Regions from separate parts of the Homo sapiens genome. Here regions 2 and 3 are each linked to region 1. Evidence: promoter capture Hi-C in human tissues and cell types (Jung and others, 2019). All regions are on one chromosome and are shown on one strand. The core of a region is centred on a gene start or on the middle of the fragment in contact, and the rest is flanking DNA. Distances in the headings are between cores, read along the strand shown.

What was found. The method cuts DNA at HindIII sites, captures the fragments that hold promoters and counts their contacts. A contact is called where the count stands out against the background at its distance.
Region 2: a contact is called between the fragment with the promoter of ZNF443 here and the fragment with the promoter of ZNF439 in region 1, in 2 of the 25 tissues and cell types used here (mesenchymal stem cells and mesendoderm cells).
Region 3: the fragment with the promoter of ZNF799 here is called in contact with the fragment with the promoter of ZNF439 in region 1 in 3 of the 25 tissues and cell types used here (bladder, mesenchymal stem cells and thymus).

Annotation. Positions count from the first base shown.
Region 1 is chr19:11,846,704-11,851,403 of GRCh38, reverse strand. It overlaps ZNF439 (zinc finger protein 439), which reads right to left and starts at 2,678. Exons shown (of 4, transcript NM_001348719.2): 1 at 2,474-2,678. The coding sequence starts at 2,536. The HindIII fragment of the contact is 2,018 bases long and covers 991-3,008 here.
Region 2 is chr19:12,438,344-12,443,043 of GRCh38, reverse strand. It overlaps ZNF443 (zinc finger protein 443), which reads left to right and starts at 2,023. Exons shown (of 4, transcript NM_005815.5): 1 at 2,023-2,132. The coding sequence starts at 2,130. RefSeq lists an enhancer at 1,575-1,844 and a silencer at 2,255-2,344. The HindIII fragment of the contact is 16,773 bases long and covers 1-4,700 here.
Region 3 is chr19:12,398,744-12,403,443 of GRCh38, reverse strand. It overlaps ZNF799 (zinc finger protein 799), which reads left to right and starts at 2,173. Exons shown (of 4, transcript NM_001080821.3): 1 at 2,173-2,376. The coding sequence starts at 2,374. RefSeq lists enhancers at 2,019-2,068, 2,789-2,878 and a silencer at 2,399-2,558. The HindIII fragment of the contact is 18,323 bases long and covers 1-4,700 here.

The DNA.
Region 1 (4,700 bases), core at 1,429-3,928:
GTCCCAATACCCCAATACCCATAATATGTGCTTTCAAGGTAATTATAGTTATGCTTTAATGCACTTGTGCACTAAAATGTAAAGGATAGTTTTCTTTAAATCAACAGAGTAATAAATTTTGTGATGCTGTCAGCCCACATGCAGGTAGGCACAGCTTAGTTTATTCTTTACATAGACAAGATCCCTACATAAGAAAAACTTAAGACAGTACATTCCTCCTCTTGCTGTATGAGGATGCCCTACTCTGTAACAGAGAAGCTTTCTTTCTTCTTCTTCTTCTTTTTTATTTTTTTAAATAGAGACAGGGTCTCGCTGTGTTGGCCAGGTTGGTCTTCAACTCTTTTTTGTTTGTTTGTTTTGTTTTTGTTTTTTGAGATGGGGTCTCACTCTGTTACCCAGGCTGGAGTGCAGTGGCGCATCCTCGGCTGGGCTGCAACCTCTGCCTCCCAGGTTCAAGTGATTGTCCCACCTCAGCCTCCTGAGTAACTGAGACTACAGGCACAGGCCACCACATCCGGCTAATTTTTCTTATTTTTGGAAGAGACGGGGTTTCGCTAAGTTGCCCAGGCTGGTCTCGAACTCCTGAGCTCAAGTGATCCTCTCGCCTGGGCCTCCCAAAGTGCTTGGATTACAGGCCTAAGCCATCATGCTGGCCCAGAGTAGCTTTCAATAAACTCTCTTCGCACTGCACTTTGTGACTCGTCTTGAATTCCTTCCTGTGTGAGATCCAAGAACTCTCTTGGGGTCTGATCAGGACCTCTTTTTTCAGTAATATAAGCAAGAACATAACTTCCAATTTTGGAGTACTGAGTCCATTTTTCTGGAGTCTGTGTTTTGGTCATTGCTATCTTTCTGCTTGAATAAACTCTTCCAACTGAAATCTGAACCTTTTGATTATTTCCGGTTGACAAGTCCAAATAAGGCGACTGCATCTCTGCAACCAATCAAGCATTTATCTGGTTTGTCTCCTCATGTACCTTATAAAAGCCTAGCCTTAAACATGTAAAACAAAAATAAAAACATATCTTCTGGCATGGCGATGTGGCTCACATCTGTAATCCCAGCACTTTGGGAGGCCGAGGGGGGTGGATCACTTGAGGTCAGGAGTTTGAGAACAGCCTGGCCAACATGGTGAAACCCCATCTCTACTAAAAATACAACAATTAGCTGGGGGTGGTGGTGCGTGCCTGTAATCCCAGCTACTCAGGAGGCTGAGGCAGGAGAATCCCTTGAACCCAGAAGGCAGAGGTTGCAGTGAGCCGAGATCGAGCCATTGCACACCAGCCTGGGCGACAGAAGGAGACTCCGTCTCAAACAAAAACAAAAACAAACAAAGTACCTTCCCAGCTAAGTGAAGTGACTGGCTCTTGGCCAAGGGAACCCCCAAAACACCCTGAAAATTGAGTGCCTCTGTATGACAGGATGGGAGGTGAGACAGGTCTCCTTATACCCTCTCCCTTTAGGAGTTTACATGCAGCAACTGACGCACATTCATGTAAAAACAGACATTCTCTGACTGGAAAAACAGACTCCTTGTGGCAACAAGATACCAAATTACAAACAAGACCTAAGGCCACGCAAGGCAAAGGTAAAGTTACGTCTTAGAATTCATAAAATCTAGAGAAACAGGACTGTTTTTTGGCTGGGATGGAATGAAGTGGCAGATAACAGACCCCCTTCCTTCAGCATTCCTTCCTACCTCCTCCAAACTTTAGACAAAGCTTCACACTCTCAACCAGCTGCCACCTACAGAATCCCTCAACCACCTGTGCCTCCTAACCCCCCTTCCACAGGTCCCACCCTTTCTGCCAATGGAATTTACACCTTCCAGCCTTGATCCATCATTTTCCCTGCAATTCCTGTCTCTCTGAAATGAATAAAACCAAACTGTCCTGAGCCGCCTCCGGACCACTTACTCCAGGCTGCTTGGGGTTGTGTTTCCCTCGGCCAAGGTCTCTCCTACTCGGCTCTGAATACACTTCTGTATTTTACATAGTCTGTTTTTTTTCCGTTGACAAACCACAAGCCAGGACCGGGTGTTTCTCATTCGTGAATGGCTGTTTCCTCAAATGAACTTTTTGTTAACGTACCTCAGTATAATTTTTAACAGGAGAAAGTGGAGGCTGTGGGCCCCACAGACCGCTGCTCCTCCTACGGACGAAATCCACACCCGAGTCGAAATCCGCGCATGACCCTCCCGTGGCCCCCGCACAAGCTGGGGCGTCGGGCTGCGGGCGCGGAGCTGCACAAAAGGGCTTCGGGGCCAAGGCCGCAGTCGACGGGCAGGGACGGGACAGGACGCCCGGAGTCCCGGCTGCCGGCCCACCCACATCCAGCGGCCGCGGGGACCGAGGGCCGAGCAGCTCTAGGAGGACTCGGTCCCAGACCCCGGAGTCGCCCACAGGGAGGCCCGGGTCCCGCCAGTTCCAGGCAGCCCCTCCCCCATCGCACCACTCCCGGCCAGCACACGCACCATTTCCCGGCTTTCAGATGTACCGGGGTCCTCTCTACAGCTCCTGTGAGTAAAGCAGGGCATAGCGCAGGTGACAGAGCGACAGAAATCTGGGTAGAGGCACTAGGTCCCTCTCGGGGCTGGAAAGGCCAGATCCCAACCGCCGCCCTCGCAGCGACAAAGGTGACGGCAGGAATGCAACATCCTCCGTGCCTGGATGCACAGTGGGCAGGGCCCCGAGCCAGTGCCTCTGATTGGATGGAATGTTCGGCCCCGCCCCCCACGTCTAAGTGACAGCGGAAGCCCTGGGTATCAGGCCCTGCGGAGCCAGACTGACAGATTCTAGCAACAGCTTCTCTAAGCTTACACGAGCTGCTTCCTGCACTCGGGTTATTGGATAGTTGCATTTCAGCCAAACTTGCTATTGTTAGAAGAGAACACTAGCGTCTTCCTCACTCAAAGGACTGTCCCCGCTCCTTCGTTCTGCACGGGGTCACAGGAGTGTGCAGGGAATTTCAGACTCAGTGTCCACAGGAGCCATCTCCTGCCTCAGAGCAGCAGGGGAACCGAGACCAGGCCAGGCAAGACTGCACCAGGAGGAGAGGCATATTTCCTCGAGCGGGCCGGAATTGGGGATGAGGCATGGCCAAGACTTGCTCACACACCCCCATCCCCTCCTCACAGTATGAAAATGCTCCGTCCTTCCAGATCTTCATTTTCACCTGCAGGAAACTCTCACCTGGGGTTAAGCTTCGGACCTAAATAAACTGTCAACCTCATAAACCTTTTATCCAGGTGACGCCACCAAACAATTGTGTCTCTAGCCTGATTTTCACACATTTTCTTTATATATACAAATAACTCTGACTCCAGCGACCCCATGTATGTCAAACCCCAAACCCTGCCCAGAAGACAGCCCCAGGCTCCAGAGGTACAACACCAGAAAGGACAGAACCCCACAAATGCGTCTGCACGAAGGTCTTCTGCTTTCCAGGGCCCTACAGCTTCTCGGAATCCACACTCCTTCTGGAGCTGCTCTGAGCAGCTGGAGGCCACCTGTAGGGGAGGGCGGGCTGCCCAGGAAGCCCCCAGGAAAAGCTCCTTTCCCTTCCTTTGCAGGCTCCAGACTGGCCTCAGCGTGGAGTCACTGGCCTCGGGCTCTGCTGCCCCTGCAGGTTATTCAGCTACTTCTCACCCCATTGATCAGTTCCATGACACAAACACCCTCAATCCCATTGTGTGAATAAGACACCAGCAGAGTCCCTGCTCTCCTCCTATGTTTATGTATAAAGTGGGGAAGGAAAATTCTAAGATAACTTAAGTACATTTAAAAGACTTCCAGATCGCGGTGGAGGTGGCAGCGGAGGGACCCACGGTCACTGACACTGCAGCACCTCCAGGCCTGTCTGGTCAGAGAAAGGGTGGAAAGCTGGAGATGGATGTGGATACGTGGAGGGAGCAGCCCTGGGAACTGGGCTCTGCAGCAGCGCGGCTCTAGGGCCTGGAGCCCGGGAGAGCACAGATGGGGGCTCCTGGGACAGGATGCTCAAAGAAGAGTCAGGTGGCTTCCATGAAATGGGGTGCTATGGCAGCTGGTGAGGGCCTGTGGCTATCATAATTTGGGACGTGAAAACTTGGATTCCGTGGGAATTTATGAAGAGGAAGGCTCTGATGACAAAGAAGTCATCGATGAGGAGGGGGATGAGGGTCACTGGCAAGCTCGCTTCCTTATGGAAAGAAAAGTGAACACCCAACTACTGCTGCAAAATGGGGTGAAAGGATGAGACTCTCACTGTCAGGGAATAAACTGCTGCAGAACTCTTAGAGATTGCAAAGACCTTTCAACAACAGCCTGGGAGGCCGGGTGCCATGGCTTACACCTGCAATCCCAACATTTTAGGAGGCCAAAGTGGGAGGATCACTTGAAGCCCGAAGTTGAAGACCACCCTGAGCAGTGAAGTGAGACACTCCCATCTCCATAATTTTTTTTTTATTAGCCTGGAGAGGTGGTGTGTACCCTTAGTCTCAGCTACTCAGGAGCCTGAGGCAGGAGGATTACTCGAGCCCCAAAGTTTGAGGCTGCTGTGAGCTTTGATCAGGCTACTGTACTTCAGCAAGACACGGTCTCAAAAAAAAAAAAATCCCACCAAATTCCCTGGGGAAACCCTGACCCCCTTGGATGGTCTAATTGTAAAACACAGAGGGTGGTGACGTTTCCTTATGGACTGGATCATTCTAGCCATGTAAG
Region 2 (4,700 bases), core at 774-3,273, 590 kb before region 1:
GCAACTAAGAACAACTATATGCCAATAAACTGGAAAACCTAGAAGAAACTGATAAATTCCTAGGCAGATAGAACATAGCAACATTGAACCATGAAGAAATAAAAAACCTGAACAGACCAATAACAAATAATGAGATCAAAGCCATAATAAAAAGTCTCCTAGCAAAGAAAACCCCAGAACCCAGTGGCTCCACTGCTGAATTCTACCAACATTTAAAAAAGAACTAATACCAATCTTACTCAAACTATTCCAAAAAACAGAGGAGAAGGCAATACTTCCAAATTTATTTTACAAAGCCAATATTACTTTGACACCAAAACCAGACAAAGACATGTCAGAAAAAGAAAACTATAGGCCAGTGTCACTGATGAATATTGATGCAAAAATCCTCAACTCAATACTAGCAAACTGAATTTAACAATACACCAAAAAGATCATTCATCATGACCAAGTGGGCTTTATCCCTGGGATGCAAGGATGGTTCAATATATGCAAATCAATCAATGTGATGTATCATTTCAACAGAATAAAGGGCAAACACCATATAATCATTTCAATGTGCACTGAAAAAGCTTTTGATAATATTTAACATCCCTTCATGATAAAAACCCTAAAAAAAAGTGGGTAAAGAAGGAGCATACCTTAACATAATAAAAGCTATATATGGCAGACCCACAGCTAGCATGATAATGAATGGGGAAAAACTGAAAGCCCTTCCTGTAAGATCTGGAACACAATAAGAATGCCCACTTTTACCACTGTTGTTCAACACAGTACTTGAAGTCCCAGCTAGAGCAATAAGACAAAAAAAAAAAAAAGAAAAAAAAAGAAATAAAGGGCATCCATATTGGGAAGGAAGAAGTCAAATTATCCTTGTTTGCATATAATATGATCTTATATCTGGAAATACCTAAAGACTCCACCAAAAAAGTATTAGAACTGAGAAATAAATTCAGTAAAGTTGCAGTATACAATATCAACACACAAAAATCAATAACATTTTTATATGCCAACAGTGAACAATCTGAAGCTACTTGAGAGGCTGAGGTGGGAGGATTGCTTGAGCTTAGGAGGTAGAGGTTGCAGTGAGCCATGATGGCCCCACTGCACTCCAGCCTAGGTAACAGAGCAAGACCCCATCTCAAACAACCAAAAATGTGTAGAAGGATGGTTACCAGAGGCTGCGAAAAGTAGTAGCGAGGAGTAGTTATGGGGGAAGTGGGGATGGTTAATAGGTATAAAAAATAGTTACAAAGAATGAATAAGACCTAGTATTTGCTAGCACAACAGAGTGACTATAGTAAAAAATAATTTAATTGTACATTGAAAAATCTTGAAAAATTTCATTGAAAAAGAGCATAATTGGAGCCAGGCGCAGTTGCTCACGCCTCTAATCCCAGAACTTTGGGAGGCCAAGGTAGGCGGATCACGAGGTCACGAGTTTGAGACCAGCCTGGCCAACATGGTGAAACCCAGCCTCTACTGAAAAATACAAAAATTAGCCGGGTGGTGGCGCGTGCCTGTAATCCTAGCTACTCGGGAGGCTGAGGCAGGAGAATTGCTTGAACCCACCCAGGAGGCGAAGGTTGCAGTGAGCCTCGCACCATTGCACTCTAGCCTGGGCGACAGAGCAAGACTCCCTCTCGAGGAAAAAAAAAAAAAAAGATATAATTAGTTTGTCAGTCCGTGTCCAGGAGGAAGAAGCAGGAGGTCCTATTGAGTACGGGCAGGAAATTCCGCTTAAGTGCAAATATAACCCGGGAGGATTCAGATCAAAGAGCAGGGAGGAAGCCCCCCCTGCCAAGGGCTGTGTCAGGAACTTGCTCATCCGGCTCCACTCAGCTGTGCAAGATCGCTTCTTCTGTCAATCAGCCCTCAGGGGGCGGGACCTGACGCCCTATCCAATCAGGGGCGTGGGGCGGGTTCGTGGGAACTGTCAATCAGGCACTGCCCAGAGAAGTGTGTGTGGTTGAAAAAGCCCGCGGCGTCTGCTCCACCCACCTGCGCTCGGCTCTGGGTTCTGTAGCTGAGAGACGACCTGGAAGTTCTGAGGCAGCCTTTGTCTGGCTGGAACACGCATTGGCAGCGGGAGCTGTCGGTAGGACCTGGGACACCGCGGAAGTCGGGAAATGGTGCGTGTGCTGGGCCGGCGTCCCGAGGCGGGGGAGGGGTTAGGTGGAACCGGCCGTAATCGGCTGTGGCTGGACCCGGGCCTCCCCAAGGGCGACTTCGGGATCTACGGACCCGGGTCCCCCTGGCGTAGGTCGGCCCTCGGCCGCAGGGTGGGGCTGGGCATGCAGCCGGGACCCCGGGCGTCCTGTCCCGTTCCTGCGCGGCGACTGCGGCCCCGGCGCCCTCTCTGGGCAGCTCCGAGCCCGCAGCCCCGGGTCTCCCCAGATTGTGCGGCTGTAACCAACACAGGTTCGCGGCCCGACTCACTGCACCGAGACGCCGAGGGCTGCAGCAGAAACGGTTTAACAGGAGGAGAGGGGAGGACACCCCAGATCCGCCTCCCTGAGGGATTTGGGGTCTGGACGGGGGCGGCTGGGTGTAGCGTCCTTGGTTGGTGGGGAAGTGAGGGGTGAATCCTGGGACAGGAGGTGAAGAAACCGCATTCTGCTGAGAGGGCTCCCTCGTGGGGTCTTCAACCTGGTTGGCGCCAGCCTTTCTGCTGGGATTCAGGATCTGAGAACTCCGGCGACTCTTGAGCAGCACTCGGAGATCTTATCCCCAGGCACAATGGGGAAGCCGGCGGTCAGCGTCTGCTGTGACCTGACTCTCAGGGAGGCGGCCCCTTGAGGCAGCGGGGCTGAGGGCACCTGTTTAATATCTAACTGCAATCTCGCCTCCAGCCTGGCTCGCAGTTCCTGTGAACCCGGTGAGGAGGCTGCACGGTGACGACGAGTCACCAGGTGGAATCCAGACTCGTGTGTGGGGTTTGTGTGTGGGAGGAGCTGTGGTTTCCGTGGTCCTCAGTCCTTTCTTCCTTTCCAAGGGCGACCGTTTCCCCTCTGAGTCTTCCAAAGACGTGGGCAGCAGGGTCTCAAATCCACCACTGTGTTCTCTCATCCTGACTCTTCCTAGGGCTGGCAGCAAATCTCTTGGTTTCCAGAGACTTCCCCAGGCTAACCTTCTGTCCTTAATTCACAGCAACAGTATGAACTGTTTGGCCCCAGGCGATATTTCACTAGTTTGTCATCTTGTTTTCAGCTAGCAATGTATGGCTTTTTCTTGAAAGAATTGTTTTGGGTTCCTGAACACGGTGGGTCATTCCTGTAATTCCAGCACCTTGGGAGGCTAAGGCAGAGGTATTGCTTGATCCCAGTAGTTCCAGACCAGCCTGGGCAACATGGCAAGACTTTGTCTCTAGTGTAAATGATAATAATAAAATTAGCTGGGCTTGGTAGCTGGCACCTGTAGTCGCAGCTACTCCTGAGGCTGAGGTGGGATGATGGCTGGAGCCCAGGAGTTTGAAGTTGCAGTGAGCTATGATCGTGCCTCTGCATCCCAGCCTAGGCAACAGAGGCCGACCCTGTCTCAAAAAAAATGGATGTCCACAGCTGCCAAGTCTCTTGGAGGGTCTAGTGAATATCATCCCCTGGGTCACTCCTCCCAGGGGACAGCCTGAGATGGAAGGTGTGGCCCCCTGGGGAGCAACTGGATCCACTGGGATGGGAGGAATCTTCTGGTATATAATTCCTGTAAAAAGCTAACTCCTGGGACACTCACCTTTTCTTCCCAACCCTAGTTTCCATTCCTTGGAGACACATGACTGAACAGCCAATTTCATGGTCATATTCCATAGGAAAAAAAACGGAAATGATTTTTGCCTTCTGGACTCTCTCAGACTTAAAAGGTAGAAAGTTATATCTAAGGACTGGAGAACCTGCCCTTTGAGGTAGTGCAAGATCCTGAAAAGCACACAAGGCAGTGTCTCCTAGGAGGGTGGTGAGTGTCTCCTAGGAGGGTGGCGAACAGAATAGGGTTAAGGGATGTCCCAGGTGATAGGATGACCTGCACTGATTGTTGCATTAGACTTTTCTGTGTTCCAGTCAGCACTGCTGATTCCTGAGTTTGTTAGCTTGAAAAGATATGTTTACTCTTTTCAGCCTAAATTTTTGATTAACCGTGAAATACATCCTATGATTAGAGATTGTTATTTTATACTTTGAAGACAAAGTATACCCAAAGTTGGAAAGAGTCGGACTTCAGAAAATAAATTTTATAAGTAATACTAGAAAGAGTTGGACTTCAGAATATAAATGGTATATGTAATCTTCTATTCCATTTTTTAAAAGCCTTTATTTATTTTTTTTGCCCCAGAGCTTGTGTAGTACGTTTCTCAGGTGTGTTTGTTTTTCGGATGATTTCAGATGGAATTTCAGGACTTAGTAGTATAACTACTACCAAGGGAAAAACCCTCTTCCATTATGGCTGCAAAAAAGGAATACATTTTTACAAGAAAGTGTAATAGGTACATTGAATTAAAAAGATTTAACAAAAGTTCAGTTCTTCTCCTTTTTAAAAGGGTGGAGATTTTGGGACAATGGAGAAATCTGTTCTGTTCCTGTTATATCTGACAGATGAATGCTAAATTCTGTGGGACAGGACTTTCCAACAGCTAAAGAAGTAAAATATAATTATTTTTTACTATATCACTTACTATCATGGAAATAGTAATTAAATGACATTCATTGTCT
Region 3 (4,700 bases), core at 924-3,423, 550 kb before region 1:
AAAATCAGAGTAGAAATAAATGAATTTGAAATGAAGAAACAATAGAAAAGAACAATGAAACAAAAAGTTGGTTTTTTGAAAAGACAAACAAAACTGACAAACCTTGAGGTAGACTAAGAAAAAAACAGAAAGGCCCAAATAAATAAAATTAGAGATGAAAAAGGAGACATTACAGTTGATACTGCAGAAATTCAAAGGATCATTAATGCAACTAAGAACAACTATATGCCAATAAATTGGAAAACCTAGAAGAAATTGATAAATTCCTAGGCAGATAGAACATAGCAACATTGAACCATGAAGAAATAAAAAACCTGAACAGACCAATAACAAATAATGAGATCAAAGCCATAATAAAAAGTCTGCTAGCAAAGAAAACCCCAGAACCCAGTGGCTTCACTGCTGAATTCTACTAACATTTAAAAAAGAACTAATACCAATCCTACTCAAACTATTCCAAAACAGAGGAGAAGGCAATACTTCCAAACTTATTTTACAAAGCCAATATTACTTTGACACCAAAACCAGACAAAGACATGTCAGAAAAAGAAAACTATAGGCCAGTGTCACTGATGAATATTGATGCAAAAATCCTCAACTCAATACTAGCAAACTGAATTTAACAATACACCAAAAAGATCATTCATCATGACCAAGTGGGCTTTATCCCTGGGATGCAAGGATGGTTCAATATATGCAAATCAATCAATGTGATGTATCATTTCAACAGAATAAAGGGCAAACACCATATAATCATTTCAATGTGCACTGAAAAAGCTTTTGATAATATTTAACATCCCTTCATGATAAAAACCCTAAAAAAAAACTGGGTATAGAAGCAGCTACCTTAACATAATAAAAGCCATATATGGCAGACCCACAGCTAGCATGATAATGAATGAGGAAAAACTGAAAGCCTTTCCTGTAAGATCTGGAACACAATAAGAATGCCCACTTTTACCACTGTTGTTCAGCACAGTACTCGAAGTCCCAGCTAGAGCAATAAGTCCAAAAAAAAAAAAAAAAAGAAATAAAGGGCATCTATATTGGGAAGGAAAGGAAGAAGTCAAATTATCCTGGTTTGCATATAATATGATCTTATATCTGGAAATACCTAAAGACTCCACCAAAAAAGTATTAGAACTGAGAAATAAATTCAGTAAAGTTGCAGGATACAATATTAACATACAAAAATCAGTAACATTTTTATATGCCAACAGTGAACAATCTGAAGCTACTTGAGAGGCTGAGGTGGGAGGATTGCTTGAGCTTGGGAGGTAGAGGTTGCAGTGAGCCATGATGGCCCCACTGCACTCCAGCCTAGGCAACAGAGCAAGACCCCATCTCAAACAACCAAAAACGTGTAGAAGGATGGTTACCACAGGCTGGGAAAAGTAGTAGCGAGGAGTAGTTATGGGGGAAGTGGGGATGGTTAATAGGTATAAAAAATAGTTACAAAGAATGAATAAGACCTAGTATTTGCTAGCACAACAGAGTGACTATAGTAAAAAATAATTTAATTGTACATTGAAATATTTTGAAAAATTTCATTGAAAAAGAGTATAATTGGAGCCAGGCGCGATGGCTCACGTCTCTAATCCCAGAACTTTGGGAGGCCAAGGTGGGCGGATCACGAGGTCAGGAGTTCGAGACCAGCCTGGCCAACATGGTGAAACCCGGCCTCTACTAAAACATACAAAAATTAGCCGGGTGTGGTGGCGCGCACCTGTAATCCCAGCTACTCGGGAGGCTGAGGCAGAATTGTTTGAACCCACCTAGGAGGCGGAGGTCGCAGTGAGCCTCGCACCATTGCACTCTAGCCTGAGCCACGGAGCAAGACTCCCTCTCTCTCTCTCTCTCTCTCTCTCTCTCTCGGAAAAAAAAAAAAAAAAAAAAAAAAAAGTATAATTGTTTTGTCAGTCAGTGTACAGGAGGAAGAAGCAGGAGGTCCTATTGAGTACAGGCAGGAAATTCCGCTTAAGTGCAAATATCCCTCGGGAGGATTCAGATCAAAGAGCAGGGAGGAAGCCCGCCCTGCCAAGGGCTGTGTCAGGAACTTGCTCATCTGGCTCCACTCAGCTGTGCAAGATCGCTTCTTCTGTCAATCAGTCCACGAGGGGCGGCACCTGACGCCGTATCCAGTAAGGGCCGTGGGGCGGGTTCGTGGGAACTGTCAATCAGGCGCGCTTCCCAGAGGAGTGTGTGGTTGAAAAAGCCCGCGGCGTCTTCTCCACCCACCTGCGCTGGGCGCTCGGTGCTCGGCTCTGTAGCTAAGAGACGACCTGGAAGTTCCGTGGCAGCCTGTGTCCCGCGGGAACCCGCATTGGCAGCGGGAGCCGTCCGGAGGACCTGGGACACCGCGGAAGTCGGGAAATGGTGCGTGTGCTGGGCCGGCGTCCCGAGGCGGGGGAGGGGCTGGGTGGAACCTGCAGTAATCGGCTGTGGCTGGACCCGGGCCTCCCCAAGGGCTACTCCGGGATCTACGGACCCGGGTTCCCCTGGCGTAGGTCGGCCCTCGGCCGCAGGGTGGGGCTGGGCATGCAGCCGGGACCCCGGGCGTCCTGTCCCGTTCCTGCGCGGCGACTGCGGCCCCGGCGCCCTCTCTGGGCAGCTCCGCGCCCGCAGCCTCGCGTCTCCCGAGATTGTGCGGCTGTAAGCAACACAGGTTCGCGGCCCGACTCACTGCACCGAGACGCTGAGGGCTGCAGCAGAAACAGTTTAATAGCCAGAGAGGGGAGGACACCCCAGATCCGCCTCCCTGAGGGATTTGGGGTCTGGACGGGGGCGGCTGGGTGTAGGGTCGTTGGTTGGTGGGGAAGTGAGGGGTGAATCCTGGGACAGGAGGTGAAGAAACCGCATTCTGCTGAATGGGCTCCCTCGTTGGGACTTCAACCTGATTGGCGCCAGCCTTTGCTGGGATTCAGGATCTGAGAACTCCGGCGACTCTTGAGCAGTTCTCAGAGATCTTATCCCCAGGCACAATGGGGAAGCCGGCGGTCAGCGTCTGCTGTGACCTGACTCTCAGGGAGGCGGCCCCTTGAGGCAGCGGGGCTGAGGGCACCTGGTTAATATCTAACTGCAATCTCGCCTCCAGCCTGGCTCGCAGTTCCTGTGAACCCGGTGAGGAGGCTGCACGGTGACGACGAGTCACCAGGTGGAATCCAGACTCGTGTGTGGGGTTTGTGTGTGGGAGGAGCTGTGGTCTCCGTGGTCCTCAGTCCCTTCTTTCTTTCCAAGGGCGACCGTTTCCCCTCTGAGTCTTCCAAAGATGTGGTTAGCAGGGTCTCAAATCCACCACTGTGTTCTCTCATCCTGACTCCTCCTAGGGCTGGCAGCAAATCTCTTGGTTTCCAGAGACTTCCCCAGGCTAACCTTCTGTCCTTAATTCACAGCAACGGTATGAACTGTTTGGCCCCCAGGCGATATTTCACTAGTTTGTCATCTTGTTTTCAGCTAGCAATGTATGGCTTTTTCTTGAAAGAATTATTTTGGGTTCCTGAACACGGTGGGTCATTCCTGTAATTCCAGCACCTTGGGAGGCTAAGGCAGAGGTATTGCTTAATCTTAGTAGTTCCAGACCAGCCTGGGCAACATGGCAAGACCTTGTCTCTAGTATAAATGATAATAATAAAATTAGCTGGGCTTGGTAGCTGGCACCTGTAGTCGCAGCTACTCCTGAGGCTGAGGTGGGATGATGGCTGGAGCCCAGGAGTTTGAAGTTGCAGTGAGCTATGATCGTGCCTCTGCATCCCAGCCTAGGCAACAGAGGCCGACCCTGTCTCAAAAAAAAAAAAAAAAAAGGGTGTCCACAGCTGCCAAGTCTCTTGGAGGGTCTAGTGAATATCATCCCCTGGGTCACTCCTCCCAGGGGACAGCCTGAGATGGGGGGTGTGGCCCCCTGGGGAGCAACTGGATCCACTGGGATGGGAGGAATCTTCTGGTATATAATTCCTGTAAAAAGCTAACTCCTGGGACACTCACCTTTTCTTCCCAACCCTAGTTTCCATTCCTTGGAGACACATGACTGAACAGCCAATTTCATGGTCATATTCCATAGGAAAAAAAAACAGAAATGATTTTTGCCTTCTGGACTCTCTCAGACTTAAAAGGTAGAAAGTTATATCTAAGGACTGGAGAACCTGCCCGTTGAGGTAGTGCAAGATCCTGAAAAGCACACAAGGCAGTGTCTCCTGGGAGGGTGATGACCAGAATAGGGTTAAGGGATGTCCCAGGTGATAGGATGACCCACCCTGATTGTTGCATTAGACTTTTCTGTGTTCCAGTCAGCACTGCTGATTCCTGAGTTTGTTAGCTTGAAAAGATATGTTTACTCTTTTCAGCCTAAATTTTTGATTAACCTTAAAATACATCCTATGATTAGAGATTGTTATTGTATACTTTGAAGACAAAGTATACCCAAAGTTGGAAAGAGTTGGACTTCAGAAAATAAATTGTATAAGTAATTCTAGAAAGAGTTGGATTTCAGAATATAAATGGTATATGTAATCTTCTATTCCATTTTTTAAAAACCTTTATTTATTTTTTTTGCCCCAGAGCTTGTGTAGTATGTTTCTCAGGTGTGTTTGTTTTTTGGATGATTTCAGATGGAATTTCAGGACTTAGTAGTATAACTACTACCAAGGAAAAAACCCTCTTCCATTATGGCTGCAAAAAAGGAATACATTTTTACAAGAAAGTGT